Linked DNA regions of Homo sapiens: regions 2 and 3 are each linked to region 1. Evidence: promoter capture Hi-C in 16 types of primary human blood cells and fetal thymus (Javierre and others, 2016). All regions are on one chromosome and are shown on one strand. Each heading gives the region's core, a stretch centred on a gene start or on the middle of the fragment in contact. The rest is flanking DNA. Distances are from core to core; before and after follow the strand shown.

Evidence for each region. Contacts are between HindIII fragments. The CHiCAGO score rates a contact against its expected background, and 5 or more counts as called.
Region 2: the fragment with the promoter of C11orf58 here is called in contact with the fragment with the promoter of API5 in region 1 in 1 of 17 cell types (total B cells); the score reaches 13.1 in total B cells.
Region 3: a contact is called between the fragment with the promoter of HIKESHI here and the fragment with the promoter of API5 in region 1, in 1 of 17 cell types (non-activated CD4 T cells). The highest score is 6.0, in non-activated CD4 T cells.

What each region holds. Positions count from the first base shown.
Region 1 is chr11:43,310,309-43,315,303 of GRCh38, forward strand. API5 (apoptosis inhibitor 5) reads left to right here and starts at 1,688. Exons shown (of 14, transcript NM_001142930.2): 1 at 1,688-1,888. The coding sequence starts at 1,820. RefSeq lists an enhancer at 1,441-2,216. The HindIII fragment of the contact is 11,672 bases long and covers 1,513-4,995 here.
Region 2 is chr11:16,735,789-16,740,642 of GRCh38, forward strand. It overlaps C11orf58 (chromosome 11 open reading frame 58), which reads left to right and starts at 2,859. Exons shown (of 5, transcript NM_014267.6): 1 at 2,859-3,053. The coding sequence starts at 2,991. It also overlaps a transcript of SOX6 not described here. RefSeq lists an enhancer at 2,733-3,362. The HindIII fragment of the contact is 4,072 bases long and covers 1,768-4,854 here.
Region 3 is chr11:86,300,660-86,305,583 of GRCh38, forward strand. HIKESHI (heat shock protein nuclear import factor hikeshi) reads left to right here and starts at 1,581. Exons shown (of 5, transcript NM_016401.4): 1 at 1,581-1,819. The coding sequence starts at 1,790. The HindIII fragment of the contact is 4,753 bases long and covers 1-2,342 here.

The sequences.
Region 1 (4,995 bases), core at 438-2,937:
TTACACATACACACATAACTTTGTTTTGTATGCTTTGTATGTTTTACATAATGGGATCATCTTATACCTGCCTTTTAACTTTTCTTTTTCTTTTTCTTTTTCTTTTTCTTTTAATTTTTTTGAGATAGAGTTTTGCTCTGTGGCCCAGGCTGGATTGCAGTGGCATGATCTGGGCTCACTGCAACCTCTGCCTCCTATGTGCATATAATTCTTCTGCCTCAGCCTCTCATGCAGCTGGGACTACAGGTGCATGCCACCACGCCTGGCTAATTTTTGTATTTTTAGTAGAGACAGGGTTTCACCATGTTGACCAGGCTGATCTTGAACTCCTGACCTCAAGTGATCCACCCAACTCAGCCTTCCAAAGTGCTGAGATTACAGGCGTTAGCCACCGCACACGGCTATATATATATATAATATTATTATATAAATATAATTATCTTAATATATAAATATATATTATTATCTTAATATATATAATATATATTATTATCTTAATATATATAATATATTATTATCTTAATATATATTATTATCTTAATATATAATTATATAATAATATACAATATATAATATATATTATATATATAATTGTATATATAATATAATATATAATATATATTATAATATTAATATCATAATATTATATATGATATATAAATATAATAATATATTAATATATATTAAGATAATAATATTAATATATTAATTATATAATTAATATATTATATATAATATAAGATAATTATAATATATAATTGATAATATTGATATATTAATTAATATTATATCTCAATATATAGATATATTATAATTATATTATATAATTAATGTATTAATTAATATTATTATCTTAATATATATTAATATAATATTATTATATTTATATTATATATTATATATTTATATATTAATATAATATTATTATATTTATATTATATATTATATATTTATATATTAATATATAATGTTATATATTATATAATATATAATATTATATATTAATATATAATATTATATATTATATAATATATAAAATTATTATATATTAATATATAATGTTATATATTATATAATATATAAAATATTATATATTATATCATATTATATATATAATTTCATTTAAACTTGTATCTTAGAAATTCTTATCAGTAAGCGTACGTGATTTCATTTATTTATTATTCTTTTGGATACTGGACATAATCAGGTGGCCCCAATTCTTTACACTGGCAGCAAAGATAAGCAAATTCTTCCAGCAGGCCAAATTTGACCCCGCACTTGATGAGCGTGGTGGACACAGAGGGTTTTTTAATAGCATAGGAATGTTTTTTGCTTCCCACCGGACCCACTAGCCTCTAGTGCCACCGATTAATATTACCTTCCTTGAATCAGGAGGAAACCATTTGTGACTTCTCATATGTAAGATCTTCTAAGGGCAGAAACGCAATTGTCTTTGTATTCACTTCCCCGCCCACCCACACCCCTTCCATGGAGAGCCTGCAGCCAAGCTCAAGCTTTCAAAAAGGCGTGAGCTAATTCAATCATCCTTGCCGCTTTTTTGCTCCTCCAGGCTGTAGAGGGCGACAAAAACCGCGGAGGCGCATTGGGGTGGGGGGTGTCTACTGAAGGCCGCTCCCGACGTGCGCGTCTTTACGTAGACGTCGGGGGCGCAGCCGCGCTGTGCGCGGTGACTGGCGGCTGCACTGGCGGCAGCTGGAGGTGTAATAGTGCGGGTAGTGGGTTTGGAGAAGTTCCGAGGCGGCGGTGGCGCCGGTCAGGACAAGGATAGCGGAACCGGGCCCTGGGCTTGTCGCTCACCATGCCGACAGTAGAGGAGCTTTACCGCAATTATGGCATCCTGGCCGATGCCACGGAGCAAGTGGGCCAGGTGAGTTGAGTCCCCGGGCGGCCTGCAGGGCCTGGCGCTCCGCGGCCTTTCGAAAGCGCTTCCCGCCGCACTCCCCGGGCCGAGCGGGGGCTGCGGCTTCATCCTCCCGGGGCCTCCTAGCCTCCTCAGGCCGTCTCGTCGGGGTGGGCCTCTCTGGGAGTGTAGACTCTGGTTTCACCAGGGAGACCGCGGTCCCCAGGGTTCCAGGCTTCCTTGCCTCCCTTGCCCAGCCTTTTCTCACCGTGGCGTAACCTAACTCAGCCCGTTCAGGCTCACGTTAATTCTTCTCACGGAGCTTTTCTCTACAGGATTCTCTTAAGCCTTTCTCCTTTTCGGTGGAGCTCAGTGCTTCCAAGATTAGATCGGGAGTTTTCTTCATGAGGTCAAGATGTGTTTTTTTTGGGGGGGAGGCAAAATTCTGCTACTAATTGAAGAAGAGTGTTTAGGAGACAGAAGTTTGTGAGAAACAGAAGAGGGACTCTTTGGTCCAGACTTTGATGAGAGCTCACGGTTTCATTTATTCAGTGCATTTTTTTGAGTGCCGAGCGCTGGAGATACAGATGGAAAGGTCCGCGCTCTCCCAGAATGTACAGTTAGGAGGGAGTGTAGTAAGAAAGATAGGCATTGTGAGGCCCGGCTTGGTGGCTCACGCCTGTAATCCGAGCACTTTGGGAGGCCGAGGCGGGCGGATCACGAGGTCAGGAGTTCGAGACCAGCCTGACCCACATGGTGAAACCCTGTCTCTACTAAAAATACAAAAATTAGCCGGGCGTGGTGACACGCGCTTGTAATCCTAGCTACTCAGGAGGCTGAGGTGGGAGGATTGCTTGAACCCGGGAGGCAGAGGTTGCGGTGAGCCGAGATCGCTTCACTGCACTCCAGCCTGGGAGACAAAGCAAGACCCCGTCTCAAAAAAAAAAAAAAAGGTTTTTTTTAAAAATTTATTCTTTTTAATGAAACATGTTTGAAGAAAATAAAACAGGGCTGGGCGAAGGAGAGTGTGAGTGCGCAGCTCTGAATGGAGTTGTCTGGAAGAGCTCTCTTAACGATGCTTGCCCCCGATACACAGTTTCTCAGCAGTGTTGAATTATCCATACAAGTCATTTGTTCCCTGTATGAGTTTTCAAGTACTGGAGTACATTGAACTTGATAAGTGGTTGGGTATGTGTGTTCTTGGGAAAAGAACCAGGCTCTCCTGGAGGTAACCTTGATCATTGTTTTAGAAATCCCACACCATAGCTTTTCAGCGCTTAGAACTTTGTGATTTTTCTGCTTACGCATCCCTTCTTGGAGAAAGTGGAAGATTCTAGTCTATTAACAGTCGTGGGAGTACCTTTCCCGTCCCCTTTTCTTAACATAATTCAAATAGGACTTTTCTGAGCTGAACGAAAAAAAAAAAATTTCATGTTGGAGATTTATTGTAGCTTAATCTAGAATTAAGAATATACCAGTTTGAAATAGCAAATGATTTTTTTTCCTTCATTCCCTGTCAGTAGGGAATTTCACTTTTATCAGTAAGAAATGTATACGGATGTTCTGCTGTACATGTGGATAGAGTGTGTAGGTCGGTTGTGAAGGAGGAATATTCTGTTCATTAAGAAGGTAAAAACTGCCAGGCACGGTGGCTCACGCCTGTAATCCCAATTCTTTAAGGGGCGTGGATGGGCAGATCAGTTGAGATCAGGAGTTCGAGACCAGCCTGGCCAACATGGTGAACCCCCATCTCTACTAAAAATACAAAAATTAGCCAGGCGTGGTGGCATGCGCCTGAAGTCCCAGCTATTTGGGAGGCTGAGGCAGGACAATTGCTTGAACCCGGAGGGTGGAGGTTCCTGTGAGCTGATATCGGGCCACTGCACTCCAGCCTGGGCAACAGAGCAAGACTCCATCTCAAACAAAAAATTAAAAAAAAAAAAAGATACAAACTATGTGTGGTCAATCAGTTTGAATTTGTTGTTCCTAAAAAGAACTAGTAGTGAAGATATTCTCAATCGTATAATTTATCTGTGACTTAGTTGGGTAACTTTGTAGCAAATTGTTCTACCTACGTTAGACTTTGTTGCATATCAGTAGGGGGATAGGGTGAAAGCTACAACAGTGGTTGTGTCAGGAATCCTTCTAAGAAACCTTTGAAACCGTATACATAATGCTGTCCATCCCCTACTCTAATTTTGAGAGTTGCTTGCATTTCCTTCTCATGTCATCTTTATAAAAACCAGATTGAATTGAGAGTTCTCCCCAAGGGGTCAAAATGTCTTTCACAGCAAAAATCTACTCTTTATTTAGTAAGGGTACTTTAGAGACAAGTTTGTGAAAAATGAAAAAGGATACCTTTGTCTACACTTTAATGAGGACTCCATGCTTTATTCCGTACATTTCACCTACCATGTACCACACACCCGGCTGGACACTGAAATTTAACACAATTCTCTGTAGGTTATGGGTGATCAATGCGTTCTGTATTGACAACTGTCAAGCAACTATTTAAACAGTATCTCTGCATAATGAGATGTAGTGGTTAGCTCAGGCAGCTCAAATATTGTGAATTGTAGGAAAACCGAAGATAATGCCTACTAATTCTGCTCTGTTGGGTTATACTTCTCCCCTTTTAGATAAAATGCCTAAAATCACTTACTAAAAAAGACAGTAGGTTTTAGGATATTGCTTGTAATTTTAACTAACAAAGGCAAAAGCCACCTTAGTAGAGAGGACACCATTTCACTTGTTTTTAAGGAGAGAAAACCGTGTTCATGTTCTTGATGTAGCAAAGCCTGATTTTCATGTCAACTTATGAGAGATTTATGATCAGTACTAAGTTTCCTGGCAAATACCTGTCTGGATACTTCTGAGACTGCATTCAAGTTTGTCAGTCTTGACTTCCTTCTAACTTTTACTTTGATTATCAACCTTTACCAGAGAGGTGAGCACTACAGGTGTTCTGATTGCTGCCACTACAGACTATTCCCTCCCCATTATTGTCAATACTCCTTTCAGAGTAGTGCCTTCTAAATATATAAGGGTAAACTTACAAGCCGTCTGAGGTTTTATCGGCTAATTTCCCCAAAGCAGATCAAATCCTCTTTTTGAACCCCTTGGTACGATGTACT
Region 2 (4,854 bases), core at 1,609-4,108, about 27 Mb before region 1:
TTTAATAAATGGTAACTGTAATTAAGGCCCTAGGAATTTTTTTTTTTAGTCTCAAGTGAAACAGCAGATTTTTTGTACACAGCATAATCTTCAAAGCCTTTATTTCCTCTTCAGTTTTAACTATGGTCAATCATGACTATCCCTGGTTGAGAGCACGTACTCGACAAACATCTGTGACTGCCCACTACATGCTAAATGTTGGGAAAATTTAAAAAAATGTAAAGTTCTCAGTGACAGGGCCTCCTCTCCTTGTCTTTACTACCCAAGAAAGAAGAACATTGCTGAGTTTCTAGGCCTCATATAAGATACCACTCTGGTACTATATAATTTCATCCTTCCTATATTAATTCAGAAACATTTATTAACTACCGTGTGGCAGGCATTGCGCCAGAAACAAAAATGCAGATGCAACAGTCCCAATTCTGAAGGAGGTATTTCATTGTTTCACTCATGATAGTGTATCTTTGTTTTTACAATACAAGAAAGAGGAGCATTACTGAGTTTCTGTGGCATATATGCATTCTATTACACTGTATAATTTCATCCTTACCTATAGCCTTCTGTATATGAAACTGAGTAAAATCTGATAAAATGTCCCAGTCTTTAGTATTTCCTATGTTACTTTTTCGTTTGTGATCTTGTTTCACAGTAACTTGAAGATTTACCATCCAGGTGCCAACAATTCTGGTGAAGAAATAAAAGACATGTTGCTAGCTCATTAAAGTTTTCTGGACTTTCACCAACTAGTAAAATTAAAATTATATAGTAACTACTATTCTTATTGACAATCCTTTCTTATTTCAGAAATCTTTTAGCAGTCTAAAGTACCTATTCAGCCATCTTATTTGTTTTGGTAATATAGCTAATAGTTCTAAATCACCATTTGTCAAACCCATTAGAGGTGAACTGTAGTCGAAACTGCAAAACTCTGTAACTTAAATGTAATTTCATTGTAACTAATAGAACCTAAGTAGAATTATGTAGTAGTGAAAATATTTTAATTCTAGCAAAAAGCAATCAACCACTTCCTAAAACAATGTTTCTTTTTTTTCTCTTGGGTTTACTCTCCTCCTCCTTTATGATTTATTCTTACCACAGAACCATTAAGATGTTCTTTGTTTGGTTATACTTATAAAATGTAACCCTGACATCTCTTTTTCTATTATAGTACTTACTATTATGCTATTTTTCTGCTTCCAAAATAAGGGAGAATTTGAATCTATGACTGCATAAATTTAAAAACTACCTTCCACTGGTCACAGTTCAGTGAGGATCTGAAATCTAGGTAAGTAATATTTGTACACAGGCAGTGAAACTAGAGCAATTGCTGAGTTCAAAAGCTAATAGCTAAGCATTGTTTCACAGACTGCTCTCAGTTCTGAAACAGCAGATATGTATTATCCATACCACTTATTATTTATTTATTTATTTATTTAGAGACCGAGTCTCGTTCTGTCACCCAGGCTGGAGTGCAGTGGCGCCATCTTGGGTCGCTGAAACCTCCGCCTCCCGGGTTCAAGCGATTCTCCTGCCTCAGCCTCCCGAGTAGCTGGGATTAGAGGCATGTGCCATCATGCCAGGCTAATTTTTGTATTTTTAGTAGAGACGTGGTTTCACCATGTTGATCAGGCTGGTCTCGAACTCCTGACCTCGTGATCCACCCGCCTCAGCCTCCCAAAATGCTGGGGATTACAGGCCTGAGCCATGGCGCCAGGCCTAATTTTTGCTTAAAAAAAAAAAAAATCACATTTGTATTCAAGGTGAGAAAGCTTCAGAATTATTAAGGACAAGGATTCTGACAGAAAGTTAAGTTCAGACCTGGTTACAAATTCAGACACCTTAATAAAGTAGGAGATAGTCTTCAGTATCTGAACAATAAATAGCTTTAAATGCAGGGCTTTTTGAGTAGAGGAGTGATCACTTGAATCTGGAGAGAGGGCGAGAAATGGGGAGGGATTGCTAACGGGCATTGGGGTTCCTTTTGGAGTGGTGAAACTTCTTGGAATCAGAGGTGACAGCTGCACACGATTGTGAATGTACTAAGTGACAGTGGATTGTACACTTTTTAAAAAATGGTTAATTTTATATGTGAATTTAACCTCAATAATTACTTTTTTTAAAAAAGAAAAAAAATAGAGGCTTTTGTGGCAGGGATGGACTTTGCTTGGTGAAGGCCCCTACTGTAACGGTGCCCAGACATCCACAGCGAGGTCAGTGAGGAGCACTCCCACCTCACACAAAGCCATATGAAAACTTAACAGATTTCCCTCAGCTAAATCCCCGTTTTCAACAACCGCCAATTAGCCAACATTTAACAACATACTGAACTCATTTCTGTATGGGAAAACAGCGAAATATTCATGAAAACATTTAGAAAGCAGCATCACCGACCACCTAGAAATCCCCTGCGCGCAATAGAGAACACCAGGGTGGAAATGGTAGAAGCCATTTTTGGTTAAGGTTTTTGTCCTGGGTGGAGGGTATTCGTGAGGATTCAGTCAGCCTCAAACATTACATTTAAACATAGGTGCCTAGCTACGATGATACATTTGCCAGTAGGGCAGCGTTGCACGGTGAAAGGCAAAAACCCCTCTAAGCCTCCTCCTGTGGCGACAAAGCTCTCGGCCAACGCTCACCGCCATACACATCCGCGGGAACGCTTCCTCCACCAGCCGAAGGCGGGGCCTCTGAGGGCACTCCCGCCACACAGCGCGAATTGAGCCTCGGGGCTTCCTGGGAATTGTAGTTTTAGTCACGGACACATCTTTTTTATTCGGGCCAGTATGCAATGAATCAGAAAACTACAACTCCCAAAGTGCCCCGGGGCGGCGAGGGGCCGCAACGGTGACGACTGTGGCAGAGAAGGCCCGGAGGGGCTCTGCGTTCTGTAGTGGCGCTGCTTGGGCCCTTGGCGGATTGTAAGCTGCTGGTTTTGCGGCTGGGAAGAGCGGCGAGAGGGTTCGGCATTTTTCGTCGGGATCCCCGCAAGGATGAGTGCTGCCAGAGAGTCTCACCCGCATGGGGTGAAGCGTTCAGCCTCCCCAGACGACGATGTAAATAATAATGGCGGAGTGGCTGAGGGTTGAGGCCTACTAAAGCCTGGAGTAGGCCGGGAAGGGTGGTTGGAGGAGGACGCGCCTGAGGTGGCCTGCAGCGGGAGAGCCCAGGGAAGAAACCAGAAGAATGAGTGGGAAATGCCTCCCTTAATCTTTATGAGGGTCAGAAGGTTTGAAGAGGCCCACACGCTGAGAGCCGGAGACCTGCGTAGGAAGGGGGATTGAGGAAGGAAATTCTGAGAGGGTCGAGGAGTGAAAGAGCTTAGTCAAGGGATTTCGTACGTGCGTTTTGGGGGGCCGATGAGAGTGCTTTCTCGGGCCTTTGTACTCAGTATAGAGACGGCAAGACTCTCCCTGTTTTGGGTTCTAAATGTTCCCGTGACAATGTCGAAATGTTCGTGCACGTTTGTACAGATTTTTCCTGCCTGGATGATTTTTACAATGTGCTGTTGAGAGTTAACTTTAGCTGCACTAGTAAGGGTAAACCGAGAACAGTATTGAGCCGAAAATTGTGCCACGGGTGTAATTTGGTACTGGCTCTGGTGGTGAGGTCTAAGACGTTGAGACCTAGAAGCCCATTTTGATGTCGGATATTAATACCTCGTTCTTCTTACCTCGTCTCCCCATCAAATGCCGTTCCCTTCCTCAGCCCTCACCTCATAGGTTTTAATAGCAAACGGTTTATCCCTTAAAGTAACCCGTTAAATATTTACTGCACTGCCGGGTGTTGGGAATTCGGAGAGAAATATGATGCTTATTTTAGGCCTTTTTGTATATTTGTCCTAGCTCCTAGCCCAGTGTCATGGAAACGGTAGGTAACCAGTAAACGTAAAACTAGGTCCTTCATACAATGGATAAGTGTCTTGGCAACGTTGATGGGGAAAATTGTTGGAGAGAGCGCGGAGAGGTCATCTTTAAGGAAGATGAAGGGATATCTAGGTTTTTTTTCGGTTTTGTTTAAAGTACTGTCAATTTCTGAATACATAGAGCTTTAAATTTTTCGATAGTGCATTTCAACGCTCTTCATAAAATTTTAAAAGCCCACTGAATACTACTTTGTAGCAAATGAGATAATGTTAAGACCTACCCCTCTGATGGGAGGTGGGGCGAGGACCGGAATATTAAGGATCTTTAAAGGAATCGACTTCAGCTCTGCAGAAAGATTAGCAATCAGTAAAGATTTGGGGATGAATGGGCACCTAGAGAAGTTTATTCTTGCTCTCTGTTATTTCTGCTACTGGATTTTAGATCTTGTTAATATGGTAATTCAGGTTTTGTCAGGAATTGATCCACACTTTTGAGTAACCTGGCTGCCACTTAAAAAGCTGTTACATTGTTTTCCTCCTGATCTTTAAATGTGACTTGATTGCTAGGATATCAGACACCTGTTTGGAAATATCTTTTAGCGTGACAGAAAACTCCAGGTGATATGAAATTTAACAAAGTTAAAGGGATTAAGTCATTAAGTTTACAGCTTCGGAAGAGGTCGGTTTAAACTAGACGACCTTGAAGACCTTTCCCAATCATATAAGCGTATCTTTAAGTACCTGGGTTTTGTTTTTGTTTTGAGACAGGTGAGACAGGGTCTCTGTCGCCCAGGCTGGAGTGCAGTGGCACGATCGATCAGTGCTCCCTGCAGCCTCCACCTCCCTGGCTCAGGTGATCCTCCTGCTTCAACCCCCTCTTCCCCCACCACCACTACAGTAGCTCGGACTACAGGTGTGCACCATTACACCCGACTAATTTTTTGTATTTTTAGTAGAGACCAGATTTTGCCACATTGCCCAGGCTGGTCTCC
Region 3 (4,924 bases), core at 331-2,830, about 43 Mb after region 1:
AAATGACTATCAGGTGGGTCATAGAAAGGTTAGTGAAGAAAAGTGAGAGGATGTGTAAGAAATAACCAAGTGAATATTACAGGGAGATAAAACAAGTTGCATAAGCACATACAAATTTAAAAGTAGGAGTTGCTCAGAGAATTCAAAAGTATGGCTAGTGCACAAGGTGGGTATGAAGAAGACATGGAAAATTAGTTAGGAAAGGCAATAATGCTAAATATTAACATTTATTGAGTAAGCTACATTCTGGCCACTATTGAGTACTTTACGTGTAAGAACCCTCAAAACAACTTTATGAGGTAGATACTACTATTACTTCATTTTAAAGATGGGGAAAAGGAGGTATGGGAGTGTTAGGTTAACTTGCCTGAGATTATGTAACTAATAAATGGCAGAGATGGGCTCTGAACCCAGGTAGTGTGGGTGCCTTAATTTATGAAGTGGTCTTCATATGAATGGCCTTTTTATTCTGAAGGTTCTAGGACTTTTTAGATAGTAAGTTGGAAACATTGGTAGATCCTTTCCTACCTCTTCACCTTTGGCACAGCTATCTCAAAGGAGTATCGGTGATAAGATAGGTGATCAGTTTAGGGATCCACAGTGGAGGCCAGAGGACTGTTCCAAACACTGATCCCCCATATATAAACTGAGAACTGGGAAGACAGACCTGCTTTACGGCTGGTGGCCAAGCTCAGATATTTCAAATTGGACAGAGACCCTTTACTATCCTATTCAAGAAGAAAAGGAATTGGAGCTGTGAAAGGGAGAATAAGTATTGGTGGCAATCGGTACTTAATGCCAGTATTTTTTTTTTTTTTTTTGGCTATTGTTTTGTATTTCCTATGAAACTTTTCTGCAGATCCACATAGAAAAAAAATAGACATTTTTACAATAAAACTCCCACTAATTAAGCACAGCCAAGCACTGTTTTAAGTGTTTTATACATATTAGCTCATTTAATCCTCACAGCAACCCTAGGCAATAGGCTCATTATTTGTCTTTTGCAAAGGAGGGGCACTGAAGCACAAAGACATCTACAACTCGTCCACAATTGTACAGCAAATGAATGGGAGAACTAAGTGAAGCTGGAAAGAACTACTATAAATTGTAGACAAGTACAAAACAATTGGTTAAAGATTAATACTTCTGAGACACTGTGTAGCAGAAAGAAACCCGGATTTGGATTAGGACTTGAATTCAGCCTCCAACATTTACTGCTGTGTAAAGATTTGAGGCTGATCACTCCTATAAAATTTGGATTATAATACTTACCTCATAGGGTTTTTGTAAAGATCTAGTGACGTGATTATTGTAAAAGTGCACCGTTAATCTCTCAGATGTCACAGAAACGTTAGAAGCATCTCTTCCCAGGATTGTACATGGAAATGAAGGATCCACAGATTTTGTGGCTATAAAACACCCGGACTACCGATCCCAGTGTGCAAAGCCTCCAGGCTTACCTTCCCGGAAACTGGCGCGGTGCCCTCTGGGACTTGTTCTGGGACTTGTAGTCTTGTACTGGCGCTGGCCCGCCTTTCTTCCTTAGTGGGGAAAACCGGGTGTAAGCCCCGGAAGTACTTGTTGCCTGAGCAGTGGGCTGCTTAGGAAGAGAAGGTCAGAGTTCGCGGGGGCAGAGGCATTCTTGCCGCTGGCCCAGTCACTATGTAGTGGAGGGGCAGACACCCTCCCGCAAATTCTGGAAGGTTCTTAGTCTCGACTAGGGCAGTAGCCCCAGGACTCCTAGTCGCCGGCTTCAGGTCACTGCCGGCTGAACGGAGCTGCCGTCGCCATGTTTGGCTGCTTGGTGGCGGGGAGGCTGGTGAGGATGGGACCGGGTGATATCAGGAAGGGGTCAGGATACCGAGGGCGAAGCCCTACGGCAGGGAGGGTGCGCAGGCGCTAGGGATGCGGGGAAGCCCACTTATTATATTTTGGGTGGGTATGTGAGGATGGAGCGTGGGAAGCTGGGTGCTCTCCTTTGCCCAGCTCTATTCAGATTCTTTCGAATAGTAGTCACAGTATAAGTTGGCATTTATTAAGTGTGCATTTTGTACCAAGTACTGGGCTAAGTGCAATGCACGCCTTTGGTCACTCAGCCTTATGTGTGGCGCTTATTTGGCACTTTGAACTTAATCCTCATAACTCGTGAGATGGTCTTTATCTTTGACATTTTGCAGTTACAGAACTAAGTTCAATCGCCAGTATAAATACCTTCTTTATTAACTTGAGGTAGAGGTGAATTTGGGATTGAATTTGGTCTATAGCAAACTGTTTTTCAAAGATTAAGGTGCTCAGGGAATGTATATCTTTTGGGTCCCTTTGGAAGAACCCGAGTAAAAATAAGCTTAATTTAATTGGAAGTTGGCTGAAACTTAACGTGTGAGCCGTATCTGAGATAACCAGAGAAGGATGCGAGTAGTGTGTTTCCTTATGGGTCAAAATAGATAACTTACCTTGCCAAATTGTTAGAGTAAATGAGAACAGCACCTGGAATTCTTTAGGAATAATCTGGAAGGTGAATCTTGTTTGTTTCCTTAGAAACCACACAGACATCAATTTTCAGGCCTGATTCCTTTCCCCTAGAAGTATTTTTCCTTCTTTTTTCTCCTGGCTTTTTAAAATGTTGCAGTCCCTTTGCTGAATTGTCTTTTTTTCCCATCAAGTTTTGATAATGTATTGTATTCTGTACATATACAGTTCTAAGAAGCCAGAAAGATAAGTTGGAGATGACTAGCCTCATAAAGTTTGTCTCTTGAATGACTGGGAGACCCCTGTGGTGATGGTGGTAATTCATAATCCTGGTGAGATAATTTTGCCCTGCTCTTAATAGGGAAAAAGGACAAACCTGGAATGATTGTGTGACTCAGACGAGTGAGTGTTATTAATGAATGACATTAAAATTGTGTTTCTTAAAGAATAAAAAGCCTATTTGGAATCCATGTATCTCTCACGTTGTCAACTAATTTGGAAGGAAATTTAGTTATGGTAATACCTGCCTCTATATATTGGGGATACTTGGTCCTTTAATTATGGAGTATTAGGACACATCAAAGTGAAGGACAAATAGACCTAGTGGCATCTCAAAACTTAACTACACGACTCTGTTATAAGAAAAATCTACTTATCTAAACTTATGAACCCAGTTTTTATTTCTTAAGATTTTTTTTCTTAAAGAGATACACCTTTTCTTAATGTCAAAAATTAGAGTGTGATGATACAGATTTGCAGACTGTTCAGTACCTATACAAAGTTGACACTTAAGAAATATTTATTTTGCCTGGTGGTTATTTCAAGACTCATAAATAATAATTTCCCATGCTTTTTAGGTTATATGCATGCCAAAGACTGGTGAAATTGAATTTAATACTAATACAGGCCATTTGGTTTGTGTTATTCCTTTGTTTTATTCTTTATACTAAAGCTGGAGGATTTTAAAGTGGGTCAGAATACTTCTGAAGAGGGAATCAGAATTTGACTTTAGGAACACTGCCTTTGTATCTTGAGACTTAATTTAGGGCAGCCAGTTGATACTACTTTATAACTAATAGATAGTTGAAATTACATAGCAGTATATTTTTCCTAAGTTTATTTGTATCGGTAGATAGGATATTATAGAGGGAAAACTTACCTAACACACATATTTTCTCTGTAAGGCATGTCATAGCCTTCTTGCACTTAGGAAGACTAGCCAGCACTTGAACTTGGTCATTTTAAACAGCACGATCACCAACAAAAATCACAAAAATGCTTTAAATAGATGAGACTGTGAAAAGGACACTTTTTCATATTACGAGGACTGAAACAAGATGGCATGTTCTACCTCAGCTGCCAGTGTGTGAGTTGCACAACTCACTTTTTTTTTTTTTTTTTTTTTTGAGACGGAGTCTTACTCTGTCAGCCAGGCTGGAGTGCAATGGTGTGATCTCTGCTCATCGCAACCTCCGCCTCCAGGTTCAAGCAATTCTCATGCCTCAGCCTCCTGAGTAGCTGAGACTACAGGCATGTGCCCCCATGCCCAGCTAATTTTTATATTTTTAGTAGATACTACGTTTCGCCATGTTGGCCAGGCTGATCTGGAACTCCTGACCTCAGGTGATCAACCCGCCTTGGCCTCCCAAAGTGCTGGGATTACAGGCATGAGCCACTGTGCCAGGCCTACAACTCACATTTTTTACTACTGTTCATATGAGTATGTCCATGAATGACTGCAGAAATGCAGCAAGCATTGATTTGGGATTACAAGTGAGTTTTAGTGAGTAGGTGAATTCAGATACAGGATTTGTGAATAAGGAGGATTGCCTAATTACTTCTGGATTGCTTACCTGTTTTAATTACCTGAGATTCTTTTATTTATTTTTGAGACAGGGTCATGCTCTGTCATCCAGGCTGTAGTGCAGTGGCGGGACCTCGGCTTGCTGCAGCCTTGACATCCTGGGTTCAAGTGATTATCTGGTCTTAGCCTCCCGAGTAGCTGGGACCAAAGGCGCATGCCACCACCCCTGGCTAATTTTTGTAGTTTTTGTAGAGATCGGATTTTGCCATGTTGCCCTGGCTGGTCTTGAACTCCTGAGCTCAAGCCAGCTGACTGCCTCGACCTCCCAAAGTGCTGGGATTACAGGCATGAGCCACTGTGCCTGGCCCCTTTATCTTTAAGCTGGAGGGTGAGAGCTTAGGTGATGTGTTTTGAATAACCTTTCATTTTTACAACATTCTGAAGCTATAGTTATTTTTATTTATTTATTTTTTTGAGACGGAGTTTAGCTCTTGCACCCAGGCTGGTGCAATGGCGCGATCTCAGCTCACCGCAACCTCTACCTCCTGGGTTCAAGTGATTCTCCTACCTTAGCCTCCCGAGTACCTGGGATTACAGGCACGTGCCACCACGCTTGGCTAATTTCGTATTTTTAGTAGAAATGGGGTTTCT